Regions from separate parts of the Homo sapiens genome. Here regions 1 and 2 are each linked to region 3. The links are contacts of gene promoters, found by promoter capture Hi-C in blood cells and fetal thymus (Javierre and others, 2016). All regions are on one chromosome and are shown on one strand. Each heading gives the region's core, a stretch centred on a gene start or on the middle of the fragment in contact. The rest is flanking DNA. Distances are from core to core; before and after follow the strand shown.

Region 1 (4,943 bases), core at 1,761-4,260, 150 kb after region 3:
TACTCCTTCTACCAGACCTCTCCCTTCGCCTCCTGGTGGGCGAGGAAGGGGAGAGGAGCTAGGGGTTTTCTGATCTTCGCTGTTCCTTCTGTGCCTTCCTTTTCAGCGGTTAAGTGGCTGGAAGGAATACAGGAAGTAACAGGAGTAATAAAGGACCTGACAGGGTTCCTTGGTTTGTTGTGTTTTGTAGAATGTCTTTGCCTTTTTTCTGCCTTTGAAGCAAGTTCTGGTTTGAATGGGCAGCCTGGTTCCTCGGAGCTGTCAGTGCCCCTGTTTAGTTGTCATGGATGCAGCACGCTTACCTATACTCGCTTTGAGTCTTGCTGAGCTCCATGCACAATGGATTCACTGGGACCATGATGCTTATGGGGCACTGTGAATGCTATATGCAAATAGTGCAGCAAGGAGCAAACAGCAGACAAGCATATTGCACACTTCTCCTCTGCTTCTGTGCCATGCACGACCGTCTCATTAGACTTCACTTACAAAGCAAAAGTTCAAAGACACAACTCTTAAGAATTTCAGAGGTGAAGAGCATGGCAGCATAGCGTTAAGCAGAGCACAGTTCCTTCTGAGCGTGCGGCCCTGGAATGCACAGTTTGCGTGACATAAAGCCGGCCCTCAGTCTACTTCTGTTTTGTCCCTGCCCGCTGAGATCACTTCTGAAGACTTGGGATGCTTGAGTAAACAGATTAGCCGTTCAGCGAATGTTGGTTTATTTTAGGCCCTGGGTTCAGAATCTTCAACTTGTGTTTTGAACACAGTATGTCAAATTGCAAAGGTAACACGTTTCTGCAGGGTAATTGCTCAAATGTCTGGTTTCTGACCCCAGGCATGGTCCTGACTTTTCTTTTTCAACACCTACAGTATTGAGAGTAGTGCTGGCAGGAAGAAATCAGTACTGACTTGGTGTAAATTGTTTTATTTGAAAAATAGAGATTTTTTGTTGTTTCCTACCTAGAATTCCCTTGTTCTTTTTGTTGAAATGACCCCATGATGATTCTTTGGGGAACCACCCCCACCTCTCCTATTCCAGCTAAAGCTGATTCTACCTCCAGGCTCCTGGGGAGGGGCACATGACCCTGGCTGAGCCAATAAGAACAGGCATCCCCCTGGCCACAGTGATTTGTTCAGGGATGGGCAAATGCCCTATCATAGACAGTGAGATGCACTGAGGGTTTCTCCTGTAATTTTGACAAATAGACTTCCACTAGTTCTCATTGGATTTTAGAAGGAGAATGTGAAACTTGAAAATGCTGATCTCACCGTGACATGGAGAATAAAGTCAGCTTTGTAGAAGACAGAGCAGGGTGATGGGGGAAAATGCATCTTAAAAAATTACTTTAAAATTTATTTTTGGCCAGGCATGGTGGCTCATGCCTGTAATCCCAGCACTTTGGGCAGCTGAGGTGAGAGGATCACTTGAGATCAGGAGTTCAGGACCAGCCTGGCTAACATGGCAAAACCCTGTCTCTACTAAAAATACAAACATTAGCCAGGTGTGGTGGCAGATGCCTGTAATCCCAGCTACTTGGGAGGCTGAGGAAGGAGAATCGCTTGAATCTGGGAGGGGGAGGTGGCAGTGAGCCAAGATTGCGCCACTGCACTCCAGCCTGGGCGACAGAGCAAGACTCCCCCTCAAAGGAAAAAAATTATTTTCAGTACATTTCACCCTTTTTGGTATGGAGCGCTGTTAAGTTTTTGGCAAATGCATGGAGTTGTGTAAGCATCGGCACGGTCAGGACACAGAAGAGCTCCATCACCCCTCTTCCAATTCCCTTGTTTAAAATTTTTGTAGTCAAACTCTTTCCAGCCCCTTCTGTCCGGCAGTCACCGATGTGTTCTTCATCCCTCTGGTTCAATTTTTCTAGAGTGTTATGTAAGTGCACTTGGACAGCATGTGGCTTTCTGAGGTTGCCTTCTTTCACTCAGCATGATGTATTTGGGACTTATCCATGATGCTGCCTGTCCATCATTTGCTCCTCTTTACTGCCGAGTAGTGTTCCACCCAACACAGGTACCGAGGCTTCTTTAACCATTCCCTCAAATGACATTTGTGAAGATGCACAGTGATGACACTGCTTCACTGCTGGATCCAGCCAGACCTGAAGCCAGCCTATGCCAGCTATGACTGACCTTAAATTCCAATTTTGTTTAGACTTACATGGTTTGCATTCTTTCATTTCATTCTGGGAAATGAAAGAATCATTTTCGATTTCAGTAATGAACAGATGAAGGAGAAACAAGTCTGAATCAGTGAGAAGTCCGCAGAGGCACCACCTGTGACATTCCTATACATGCAGTTGCACGATAACAAGTCACGCCACTGGGTTACCTCATGGTGTGTCCCTGATGCACCTGGCAGCAGGTGACACCCCATTTGACACAGAGGGAAATCGAATGGGAGGATGAAGTGACTTGCCTTGGTACATAAATCCAACTGATGGCAGACCCGGGGCTCCAGCCCAGGTGTCTGTCTGCCTTTTGTAAGCCTCAGCTGCTTCCCAATCACACAGTGGCAGAGCTGTCAAGATTACTCAGTGAATTTTCCTCTCTTATTTAAACAGTCTCCAAGGTGTCCAATTTAGAATAAATATAAATGGAAATTATAACAAGGTCATCAAAATTTCCTACTGTTTAACAGCTGGTGGTACCTATAGGAGGTCAAAATTACTGTCACTAAGCAATCTATATAATCCATTTAATAATGCTCCCCCTGCATCTGGCATGGCATGGAAATCTCTCATGTTGGCTGAACAGCTCTTCACTTTTGTTTCTCTGAGTGTCTTTATCTCCTCCTTGCTCACAAAAACACAGTTTACATAAGGAAGTGCTATGCCATTTGTTTCCACTTTTTAGTAGGGATGGGACCACTGCTGTCCAAATCGTAAGCCTATACCATGTTGGTTTATTTGGTTGTCACTAGCTGCTGTGACAAATAAACTCCTAGGCGTGGCTTAACACAATAAAAGATTGCTTCCTGCTCACATCTAGTGTGGGTGTTCACATTTGGCAGGCAGCTTTCCTCGCGTGGAGGTTCCAGGGCCGGGGCTCCTTCCAGGTGATGGCTTTGTCATGCCCTAGGGCTTCAGTGTTTCCTGCTTCTCACTGGTGGAAGGTAAAAGTTACCTGTTTTGGCTTTAATGTGATATGTGACACTCCTGCTTCTCTTTCAAGAAGAAGTCTTGTGGCCATACGTGGATACAGGAGAGGCTGGGAAAGTCCCTGCCTGAGCAGCCATATGCAATACGGTCGACGAGGAAGTTTTTGATTTTCCTCTCCTTGACAGGTGGCCATCTCACCCACAGGCCCAATAATGTCTTGTTATCTAGATTAAGGGTGTTCTCCCCTCATCCATATACTCAAATTTCCGGTATTCTGTTCTATGCTATTTTCCCCTGTTTGGCTAGGTTTGGGCTCCTGCACACAAAGGCTTCTCATCCTCAAAGTCATACATGCAGATGGCGAAATTAAAATGGTACAGAATAACTTTGAAAGAATGGCCATAGTCTTCCATTCCTCTATATCCTTGATCTCCTTCCCCAAAGTCCGCCACTTCTAGCCATTTCTGGTTTTAGTTCTTCTGGTGATGACTTCTATAATTATTCATCTACCTTGACTTCTTGAGTTAATAAATGTAGACAGCAGCGCTCTCTCTATAAAAGATGAGGATTTAGCTAATGTACACACCTTCTTCCCTTTTTCACATTTTAATTGTTTTTACTTATTTGCATTAAAAATATCAACTTTATTCCATTTATTCATTTATTCTTTCAACACACATTTATTTCCTACTTACTTTGGGCCAGGCACTCTGCCATGTACTTCTCTTTTCTTATTATTTAGGATTGTGTTTGGCTGCAAGTAACAGAAGCCCTGGCCACAGTGGCTTAGGCGAGTAGGATTTGATCTTATTTTTTCTTTGATCCCATGCTGTGACCAGCTCTCTTGTCTTCTCACATTGTGTCCTCAGCGTGTACCTTTGTTCCTCCTGGTTGCACAGTGGCTGCTCTGTCACCATCCCTCTCAGGACGCAGCACCAACACCCACACTTGGATGCCTGACATTTCTCTGGAGGGTTAACTCAGTGTCGAGGAGTTGCCTTTTGAAGAGCTACTGGGGAGAAGTATGAAGCATTCTGGTTTTTCCTGAGGATGGGGGCACTGGAAGGAGGTCTGCCTGGAGTGGGTGTCTCATCTTCAGAATCTGTTACTCTCCTTTTTTGCGGCTCTAATTTCACACCTGTCCTTACTGTACATGCCAGCAGGTAGCCAGGAGCCCCTCTGGGCTCCAGTGGGCAGAGTAGCCCCTTGATCCTTGGCAGCACATGTAGAATGTTCTGGTCTGAGGTTTCCTCTGCTGTCCTGCCCATCAGCACACTTTTATCCGCTTATTCTCTTTCTTAAATTTGTTGAAGTATTTTATTTGCAGATATCCTCCCTCCATTTCTCTTGATAATAGGTTTTTTCCTTTTTGTACTTTCATGCTTTTATTTCATTTGGGTTTCTGTGGAGATGGAGGGAATAAGTGTGCTCAGTCTGCTACTTAAAAGTAAATTCCGTATCCTTCTTTTTGAAGGAAGAATGTCAATATTTCTCTTAGATTGAATAAGCAGCACATGTTCATTCTAGAAAACTTGAAAATACGTAGAAAAATATGGCAGGAAGTTGAAAGGCATCCACACTCTCAATGTGTAGATCCTCACCTCCAGCTAACAGTCCATTTGAGTTTTGACATGGGCAACTTGACCATATGATTCTAAAGTTAACTTGGAAGGTGGAAAGCAGGGAAGTCTAGCTAATAGGATTTTGATAAAGAACAATAATGCCTCTGTATGAATTTGCTAGGGCTGCCATAACAAAGTACCACATATTGGGCCACTTAAACAGCAGAAATTTATTTTCTCACAATTCTGGAGGCTGGAAGTCCAAGACCAAGGTGCC
Region 2 (4,301 bases), core at 1,709-4,208, 220 kb after region 3:
ACCATAGGCACAGAGTGCTGCCAACTGGGGGAGCTCACCCAAGCTTGGTGTCCAGAGCTTTTTTTGGAACTTGGTCACATAGACATGGCTGACTCTCCAGTCCCTCCAGTGGTCAAGCAGATCCCATGTGGCCCAAGCCTCCCTACTATAAATCATATTGAAGCACAGATTATCTGGCATGGCCCAAGACCTCAGGTAAACAAAGACACTCTTATCAGGCAAGAAATTCCAAAGGCTTAAAAGTTAGTTCTCAGGAGGTGAAGGCAAAGGCCAGACCTCTCTTCGGGCAAAGTTAATCCTTTACTGCCCACCCACTATGTAGACAACCAAACAAACCCAAAACCCTGTAGAGTGGAGTATTTAGTTCAAAAGTGGCTGGTCTAAGTAGAAGACAGAAAGATGCAGGTGTGTACTCACAGAGCAGGTTTCCTTTTGCCCAGCTAGGTGGTGGATGCTATGGGCTGGGAAAGACATATGGGGAGTGAGATGGAGAAGGTGTGACCCCGTGCCCTGTCTGTCTGTCCCTGCTGGGTAGAGGCTGGCCTGGAGTCCAGTTGTCTTTCTTTTGACTTATCTACAGCAGCTAGAATGTCTCTCTCCCTGGTCCAACCAGGAGGGATGCTCATCTGGACTCAGACTCTTTCCAGCATCCAGTCCTCCATCACAGACAAGGCCAAAGCTCAGGTCACTCTTGTCGCTCAGAACCAAAGGGACCGCGGACACCTGGTGGAGGTCTGGGGGAGAAACGCCTCTGTGTGTCTGGGGTGGTGACATTTGGGTTCACCTGGAGACCTACCAGTGAACGTGGGCAGTGGTGGAGCCACCATGTCCTCCTGGCTCTGACTTACGTCCCTGTTACAATGCACTTGCTCTGTTTTGAACTTCATATTGAACTGTAACCTACATGCAGAAGAGTCCACATAAGCGAGCACAGACTGATGAGTTCTCACAACCACCAAGTAATCGGCATGCAGAAGGAGAGACAGAGCATGGCAGGGTCCCCAGAAGCCCAGCAGGACTCCACTCAGTGACTGCCTCTACCACAGGGCGGCCACTGTGCAGGCTTTCACCTCGGAGATCTGTGTGCCTGCTTCTGACTTTCCACGAACGGAATTGCACAGTGCGCGCTTTTGGTACCTGGCTTCTTCCACTCAGCTGTGTATTTGGAGGGTCGCTGTGTTGTTGTGTGGTGATAGGCTGCTTCCTCGTTACTGCTGTATAGTGTTCCACTGTGAGATGTTACGCTTTACCAGTTCCGTTGTCAATGGGTGCTAGGGTCTGAACGTCTGTATCCCCCACAAATTCGCATGTTGAAATTCTTATCCCCAAGGCAGAGTTATTAGGAGGTGGGGCCTTTTGGGAGATTAGGTCATCTCCCTAAAGGAATGGGATTAATGCCCTTATAAAAGAGGTTTGAGGGTGCTCTGTCACCCCTTCCACCATGCGAGGACACAGCATGACAGCCGCATCTATAAAAAAGCAAGCTCTCACCCGGCACTGAAACTGCTGACATCTTGCTCTTGGACTTCAGCCTCCAGAACTGTGAGAAATAAATTTCTGTTGTTTATAAGCCTCCAAGTTTGTGGTATTTTGTTAGACTGTCCCGAACAGATTAAGGCAATGAGCATTTTGGGTTGTTTCCATTTTGGGCTGATGGCAGGGCTGTCGTGCACCTTCTTGTATGTGTGTCTTGGGGAACAGGTGCATGTGTTTCTGTTGGGCATAAACCGAGGAGTGGCAATGCTGTTACAGGGTCTACGGAAATTCAGGCTTTGTAGTTATCACCAAATAGCTTTCCAAAGAGGTTGAACCAAATTACACTCATTCCAGCAATGTTCACGAGTCCCAGTCACTCCATGACCAGGCCACCATTTGCTTTTTTCTCTCTTTTCAGTTTAGCCATTCTGCTGAGTAAGTGTTTTGACTTTTGTACTGCACAAGGGGATACACCAGAGTGGATTGTTAATAATAATAGTGATAATGATAACTAATAATAATAATAATTGAAAAGTCAAGACAAAGACAGTCCTGGAGTGCATCAACCCTGTCTTGGCTTCAACTGTTATGGAGAGAATTACTTTGGGACTTATGTGCTCACAGGTACTCTCCTCAGTTTGTGTAGAAGCCTGCTGCCTTTACTGCAGTTTTGAGGGCACTTTTGCAGCTTGAAAGTCCACTCTTTGGAGAGTTGCTGGGCCCTAGAATGCCTGCTGAGCCAGCCACAAGGGAAGAGGGACTGAGATAGGCATCTGGTTTCTGGAGACTTCCTCGTGTCCTGGAAATCAACCACACTGGAATTTATGGATCCCCTTATTTTCCAAATTGCAAATGCAGCAAGGGACCCTCTTGGGTGTGGCTTCACTGTGATCCTGGAGGCTACTGGAACCCGAGGAGCCCTGTCCCGTGAGGAGGCATCCGGCGGCAGTGCTTGTGGTGTGCACAGGAGCTGATTGAGGGGGGGCAACACTCCTAAGAGGGGTGGGAAGACTGAGGCGAGCGAGAAAAATAATTGTGTCCCAAGCCTCAGTGCCAAGTGGGGTGCTTGGCTGTGGACAGTGGAGTGGAGTGAGTGGAGTGGAGTGGAGTGGAGTGGAGGAGTGGAGTGGAGTGGAGTGGAGGAGTGGAGTGGAGTGGAGGAGTGGAGTGGAGTGGAGTGGAGTGAGTGGAGTGGAGTGGAGTGGAGTGGAGGAGTGGAGTGGAGTGGAGTGAGTGGAGTGGAGTGAGTGGAGTGGAGTGGAGTGGAGTGAGTGGAGTGGAGTGAGTGAGTGGAGTGGAGGAGTGGAGTGGAGTGGAGGAGTGGAGTGGAGTGGAGTGGAGGAGTGGAGTGGAGTGGAGTGGAGGAGTGGAGTGGAGGAGTGGAGTGGAGTGGAGTGAGTGGAGTGGAGTGGAGTGAGTGGAGTGGAGTGGAGTGGAGTGAGTGAGTGGAGTGGAGTGGAGGAGTGGAGTGGAGTGGAGTGGAGGAGTGGAGTGGAGTGGAGTGGAGGAGTGGAGTGGAGTGGAGTGGAGGAGTGGAGTGGAGTGGAGGAGTGGAGTGGAGTGGAGTGAGTGGAGTGGAGTGGAGTGAGTGGAGTGGAGGAGTGGAGTGGAGTGGAGTGGAGTGGAGTGGAGGAGTGGAGTGGAGTGGAGGAGTGGAGTGGAGTGGAGTGGAGGAGTGGAGTGGAGTGGAGGAGTGGAGTGGAGTGGAGGAGTGGAGTGGAGTGGAGTGGAGGAGTGGAGTGGAGTGGAGTGGAGGAGTGGAGTGGAGTGGAGTGAGTGGAGTGGAGTGGAGTGGAGGAGTGGAGTGGAGTGAGTGGAGTGGAGTGGAGTGGAGTGAGTGGAGTGGAGTGGAGTGGAGTGAGTGGAGTGGAGTGGAGTGAGTGGAGTGGAGTGGAGTGGAGTGAGTGGAGTGGAGTGGAGTGAGTGGAGTGGAGTGAGTGGAGTGGAGTGGAGGAGTGGAGTGAGTGGAGTGGAGTGGAGTGGAGTGGAGTGAGTGGAGTGAGTGGAGTGGAGGAGTGGAGTGGAGTGGAGTGAGTGGAGTGGAGTGGAGTGGAGGAGTGGAGTGGAGTGAGTGGAGTGGAGTGGAGTGGAGGAGTGGAGTGGAGTGGAGTGAGTGGAGTGGAGTGAGTGGAGTGGAGTGAGTGGAGTGGAGTGGAGTGAGTGGAGTGGAGTGGAGTGAGTGGAGTGGAGTGGAGGAGTGGAGTGGAGTGAGTGGAGTGGAGTGGAGTGGAGTGGAGTGGAGTGAGTGAGTGGAGTGGAGTGGAGTGGAGTGAGTGGAGTGGAGGAGTGAGTGGAGTGGAGTGAGTGGAGTGGAGTGGAGTGAGTGGAGTGGAGTGAGTGGAGTGGAGTGGAGTGAGTGGAGTGGAGTGGAGTGGAGGAGTGGAGTGGAGTGGAGTGAGTGGAGTGGAGTGGAGTGAGTGAGTGGAGTGGAGTGAGTGGAGTGGAGTGGAGTGAGTGGAGTGGAGGAGTGGAGTGGAGTGGAGTGGAGTGGAGTGAGTGGAGTGGAGTGAGTGGAGTGGAGTGGAGTGAGTGGAGTGGAGTGAGTGGAGTGGAGTGAGTGGAGTGGAGTGGAGTGGAGTGGAGTGAGTGGAGTGAGTGGAGTGGAGTGGAGGAGTGGAGTGGAGTGAGTGGAGTGGAGTGGAGTGGAGTGAGTGGAGTGGAGTGAGTGGAGTGGAGGAGTGGAGTGGAGTGGAGTGGAGTGAGTGGAGGAGTGGAGTGGAGTGGAGTGGTCAGGGAGTGAAACTGAGACAGGGGACAAAGTAGAGATGCCCACACAAGAACAGAAAACCAAACACCGCGTGTTCTCACTCGTAAGTGGGAGATGA
Region 3 (4,401 bases), core at 1,550-4,049:
GGGAGATTGTAGGCTGTGTAATTCTTACGGTCCTGCCCAGGCTATGAGGCCAGCAGGCTGGGGGCGAGAGTCTAGGTAGGAGTGAGAGGAGAATTCCGCTCAGCCCTGGGGTCTCCTCGTTACTGCCGCCAGCCTCTCAGATTCCCCCCCGCCCTTCAGAATCCAGGGAGGCTTTTTTCCCCTGCTTATTTCCTCCAGAAACACCCCCTTTAGAGATACAGGCTTAGGGGCATGGTTAATATGCAGAAATCCTCATCCAACCACAAGACAGGCTGAGCCAGGCTGGAATTCTCATCCCTACCCCACGTATGAGCTCAGAGAGGATTAGGGGCTTGTCCAGAGTCACACAGCTGGGGCATGGAAAAGCTACCCTCAAAAGGAGATTCCTCTCTTCAGCGTCTGGCTCAACCACCATCAGCATATTTTAATGGGGAAGTGCCCTTCCCCACTGAAAGGTGCTTTCTTGGAGTATGACCAGGTAGTCCTGAGTGTGGGGTTGGGGGGAAGGCAACTGCCATCTGCCATCACACCTGGGACTGTGTGACCACTGGCTTGGGGACTTGCTGGACTGATTCACAACCCTCTCCAAGCACCGCCACTAAAGCCACAGAATGACCCCTTACCCTGCCAGAAAATGACTTTTATCTTTGGCCACAGTCTCCCAGCCTCACTGACCTGCTTCCTGGTCAAACACACGGTTCACCTTGGCACCAGCACCCCGCGGTCACTCCTGCTGTGGCTCTCCCCTGCTGTCGTCCATTCATTTCTGCTTCACCATCCCCTGCAGAGGCCGGCACACAGTAGGTGCTCAGCTCTGCAGATGCTTATGAACAAGTGAACAGGAAAGAGGTGTTGGGGGCAGCCGGGCACAGAGGACCCTAAGAGAGTCCTGACCACGTCTCCAGGATCATCCTCTTATCTGGGGAAAGGGTCACAGAAAGGGGACAGATGGGCCCCTCGCAAGGCCACCCTAAGCCCGAGGAGACCCCCAATCCCGTCGTCCAGCCTGTTGTATGGCTCTCCACACATTGCAGGCCTTGCCAGGGAGCCCAAAGGGGGCTTGGCCTGGGCATGGGCCCCTTGTAAAGGAAGCCGATTAACAGCCACGGGAAAATCCCTTTACGTCTCCTAATTAACCTGGGCTGGAGACTCACCACCTGCCCCTGGCTTTCTTCCTTCTTTTATCTAGGAAGAACTGAGTGCTGCCTCTGCTAATGAGCTTGTCTGTACTAATCAAGCAGGTGCCCTGTCCCCCATCCCCTCTTGGCAGCCGGGAGTGGGGAGGATTGTCCTTCTGATGTGAGCTCTGGGCCCGCAGAGGAAAATCAGATCTATCATAATAATGGCCATGATGATGAGAATGATAATGTTGACACTGACTCCTTTAAATGAGTTCCGACTTCCTAGGTCAGGGGCTTTGTATGTGTTATTGGGGACACCAGGTGATGTGCAATGCCTTCCATCTCTCAGATGAGAAAACTGAGGCTCAGGGAGGAATAAGGGACTCGCCCCAGCTTGCACAGCTAAGGAGCGGCAGAGCTGGGATTCTCAGCCAAGACTCCATGACTCCAGAGCCTTCCCCAAATCTGTCTTTTCATCACCCCACGCTGCCTTATTGACCATTTTCAAAGAGTTTGACCCACTTTTTCATGGAAAACTGAGATGGCAGAGCAAGTGGCTGGTGTGGTGGGGGCTGGGGCGGAGCCAGGACTCCAAGCCACCCTCCCAGGTGGGCAACCCCCCATATCCCCTGTCCTCCCAGCGTGGTGGGGAAGCTTGAAGGCATCTGAGCGCTGCTGGAGGCTCCCCCACATGCTCCCAGCATGACTCATTCATTCGGCTTAGCCCCCCGTGGCTTTGCCCTGGTTGGGGGTGGGGCGCCCAGGAGGATCAGTGGTTTCTGGGATAATAGGTACTGGGGCTCCGTGTGACCTGTGACCTCCCTCCGCACTCTGGCTGCGTCCCTGCCCCTGGATGGAAGAATTCGACCACCTAGTACCCGGCCCTGCGCAACACCTCCGCTCCGTCACTGCCTGACCCTGCGCTGGGAACTCATTCCCGGGACCGCCAGGGAATCTGCCCTTCCCAGGAGAACTCCTGGCTGCCTCCGCGTGCTCCTAGGGCCTGCGCGAAATGGGAAGGCGCATCCTCTAGCCTGGGTAAATAAGGGACCCTGCCTCACCCGGGTGGCCATCCCCAGGCCGCCTTCGCTGTGTTTCAGGTCACCGCACCCAGCCTGCGCACCCCTAGCCCCCATCCCGGTGCCGTGCAGAGGCTCTGCACACAGCCTCGGCCTCCCGGAGGCCCTCCCCTCTCTCCTCTCCCCTCTCCCACAGGCACTCCCTAGCTGTGCCACATTTAACCCGGGACCTCCTGTCCGCGCTCAGTCTTGCAGTCTCTGGCCCCGGCAGACACCACCTCTCCAGAGGTCGCTGCCCCATCCCGGTGACCCTCCGCTGGCCTCCTCACCCCTCGACCTTGGCAACTCCTACCGCTGCGCCCCAAGACGCCGGATCTAGCTGGGCATCCCCTCTCTGCATTGCGCACCCCTCCCGCAGCCCCTGTACCCGCGAGCGCCCGCGACCCCCGGCGGGCTCCCGGAGCCTCCCGGCCGGGCGCCCTCCCCCGAACCGCCGAGCAGTGGCGCGTCCCGCCGCCTACTGGCCGGGCTGCCGCCTGTGCCCCGGCTCCCGGGCGGCCCCTCCCCCGGCCGCGGCCCCGCCCTCCGCTCCTCTCCTCCTCCTCCTCCTCCTACTCCTCCTCCTCCTCCTCCTCCCCCCGGCGCTCGCTCGCTCGCTCACTCTCTCGCTGGCTCGAGGGGCGGCCGGCAGATGGCGATGGCAGAGGCGGCGGCGGCGGCGGCGGCGCGACCGGGATGGGACGGGCGCTGGGGCGCAGGAGCCGCGGCGGCGGCGGCGGCGGGGGCCGCGCAACTCGGGCCAACTGCGGGGCAGCCGGCCAGGGCGCGGGGCGCTGAGCCTCGGCCGCCCCAGCTCCCCAGCCACGCACGGCCGAGCCCAGGAGAGCGCGCAGAGGCGCAGCCGAGGAAGCGCCGCCAGCGCCGGCGCATGCGTCTGGGGAGGAGCGGCGCGCTGGGAGCGAGCCATGCCCGGCGCCCGGGCGTAGCCGCCGGGGGCTGCTCCGGGAGCCGCGGGCCGGGCCGGGCGCGCGAGAGGAGCAGCCCCGCGCCGCACCCACCGCGCGCCGAGGACCATGCCGCCCCCGGGCCGGGCGCCGCCGCTCGGGCTCCTGCTGGCGCTGACTGCGCTCCAGTGCCCAGGTAACGCGTCCCCGGACCCCATCCCCGACCCCGGCCGAGGCGCACAAAGTTGGGTGAACGGGCGGCTACCTCCTTCTCAAGTCCCTGGCAGCGCGCATCTCCCGGACTTGGACAGACCTGGGGAGACCCTGGGAACCCAGGAGCCCCCGGCGCGTTCCCCTTTGCCTAGCGCCTGGGGAGAGCCCGCCTGCCTTCTCCCCCAAACCCTTAGCTTCCTTGCGGATCCTTTCGGGACGCACGGGGGCCACAGACCGGGGCACTCAGCCTCTCGAGGCGGGTGGGGACGCGACTGCAGGAATCGAGCCCCCTCCCCGCCCTGCCTTGGGCCAAATCCCCCCCAGGTCCCAGTTCCTCCAGGGGTTTTGCTGGGCGGGGGCGTCGACGCAGCCCTTCTCCAGTGTCTTGCTGCCCGCGGTCGCACAGTGGTGCGTTCCCGGGACACCTGCGGGCCCCGGAGATGTCTCGGCCGGCGCTGTCTGGCTTGTCCGCAGCCCCTCCCCACGCCCCGCGGCCCTCCCCTGCTTTCACACTGCCCTCCCCAAGCTACCCACCCTCGCCAAATGGCCTCCTCTTGGCCAAAGAGCAGCCCGCTGCGCGCCTCCTGCAAACGCGGTCTACTCCAGCGCCCTGACCCCAAGGCGGGCGGGAGAGGGTAGCCGCGGCCAAGCAGTCCAGGACGCGCCGGGGAGCCTGGAACGCGGTGCTGTCCAGAGCCATTGCCTGGGCACCGGGGAGCTGGACTCCCTGCTGAACCAGCTCAGCTGTCGCCCAATCCTAGTGAGTGGGAAAAGCAAAATAGTCAGGTATTGTCTGTCTTCGCTGGAGTTTGGAAAGCTTTCTACCCACCTTGGTGTGGCTACATGTTGGTTCTATAGAAAGCGTATCCTAAAATGACAATTCCTCCCCTCCCCCCACCCCATGCAAGCAGTGGAGAAAATCCTAAAGGCTCAGATGAACCCCGGGAACAGTCACGAGCAGCCTTCATGTGCTTTTGAAATCTCAGTTCTCCAAACCTTTTAAAATCAAGACCCATGATTTGGGAACAGGTAGCTTTTGCTTTAGAAAATCTCTCCCCATTTCCTTAACAAACAAATCGCACAGACAGGCAGAATGCAGTAGAA

The links. The method cuts DNA at HindIII sites, captures the fragments that hold promoters and counts their contacts. A CHiCAGO score of 5 or more calls a contact.
Region 1: a contact is called between a fragment that was not itself captured here and the fragment with the promoter of TMEM132B in region 3, in 1 of 17 cell types (monocytes). The highest score is 5.0, in monocytes.
Region 2: a fragment that was not itself captured here is called in contact with the fragment with the promoter of TMEM132B in region 3 in 7 of 17 cell types (M0 macrophages, M1 macrophages, monocytes and 4 more); the score reaches 16.6 in M0 macrophages.

What each region holds. Positions count from the first base shown.
Region 1 is chr12:125,334,347-125,339,289 of GRCh38, forward strand. All of the region lies in intron 1 of TMEM132B (transmembrane protein 132B), which reads left to right. Among named protein-coding and RNA genes, the nearest start is that of TMEM132B, 150 kb to the left of the region's middle. The HindIII fragment of the contact is 7,254 bases long and covers 1-4,943 here.
Region 2 is chr12:125,407,005-125,411,305 of GRCh38, forward strand. The region is part of intron 2 of TMEM132B (transmembrane protein 132B); the gene reads left to right. Among named protein-coding and RNA genes, the nearest start is that of TMEM132B, 220 kb to the left of the region's middle. RefSeq lists a silencer at 1,635-1,823. The HindIII fragment of the contact is 5,834 bases long and covers 42-4,301 here.
Region 3 is chr12:125,183,587-125,187,987 of GRCh38, forward strand. TMEM132B (transmembrane protein 132B) reads left to right here and starts at 2,800. Exons shown (of 9, transcript NM_001366854.1): 1 at 2,800-3,280. The coding sequence starts at 3,214. RefSeq lists an enhancer at 2,001-2,534 and a silencer at 2,583-2,792. The HindIII fragment of the contact is 2,339 bases long and covers 1,774-4,112 here.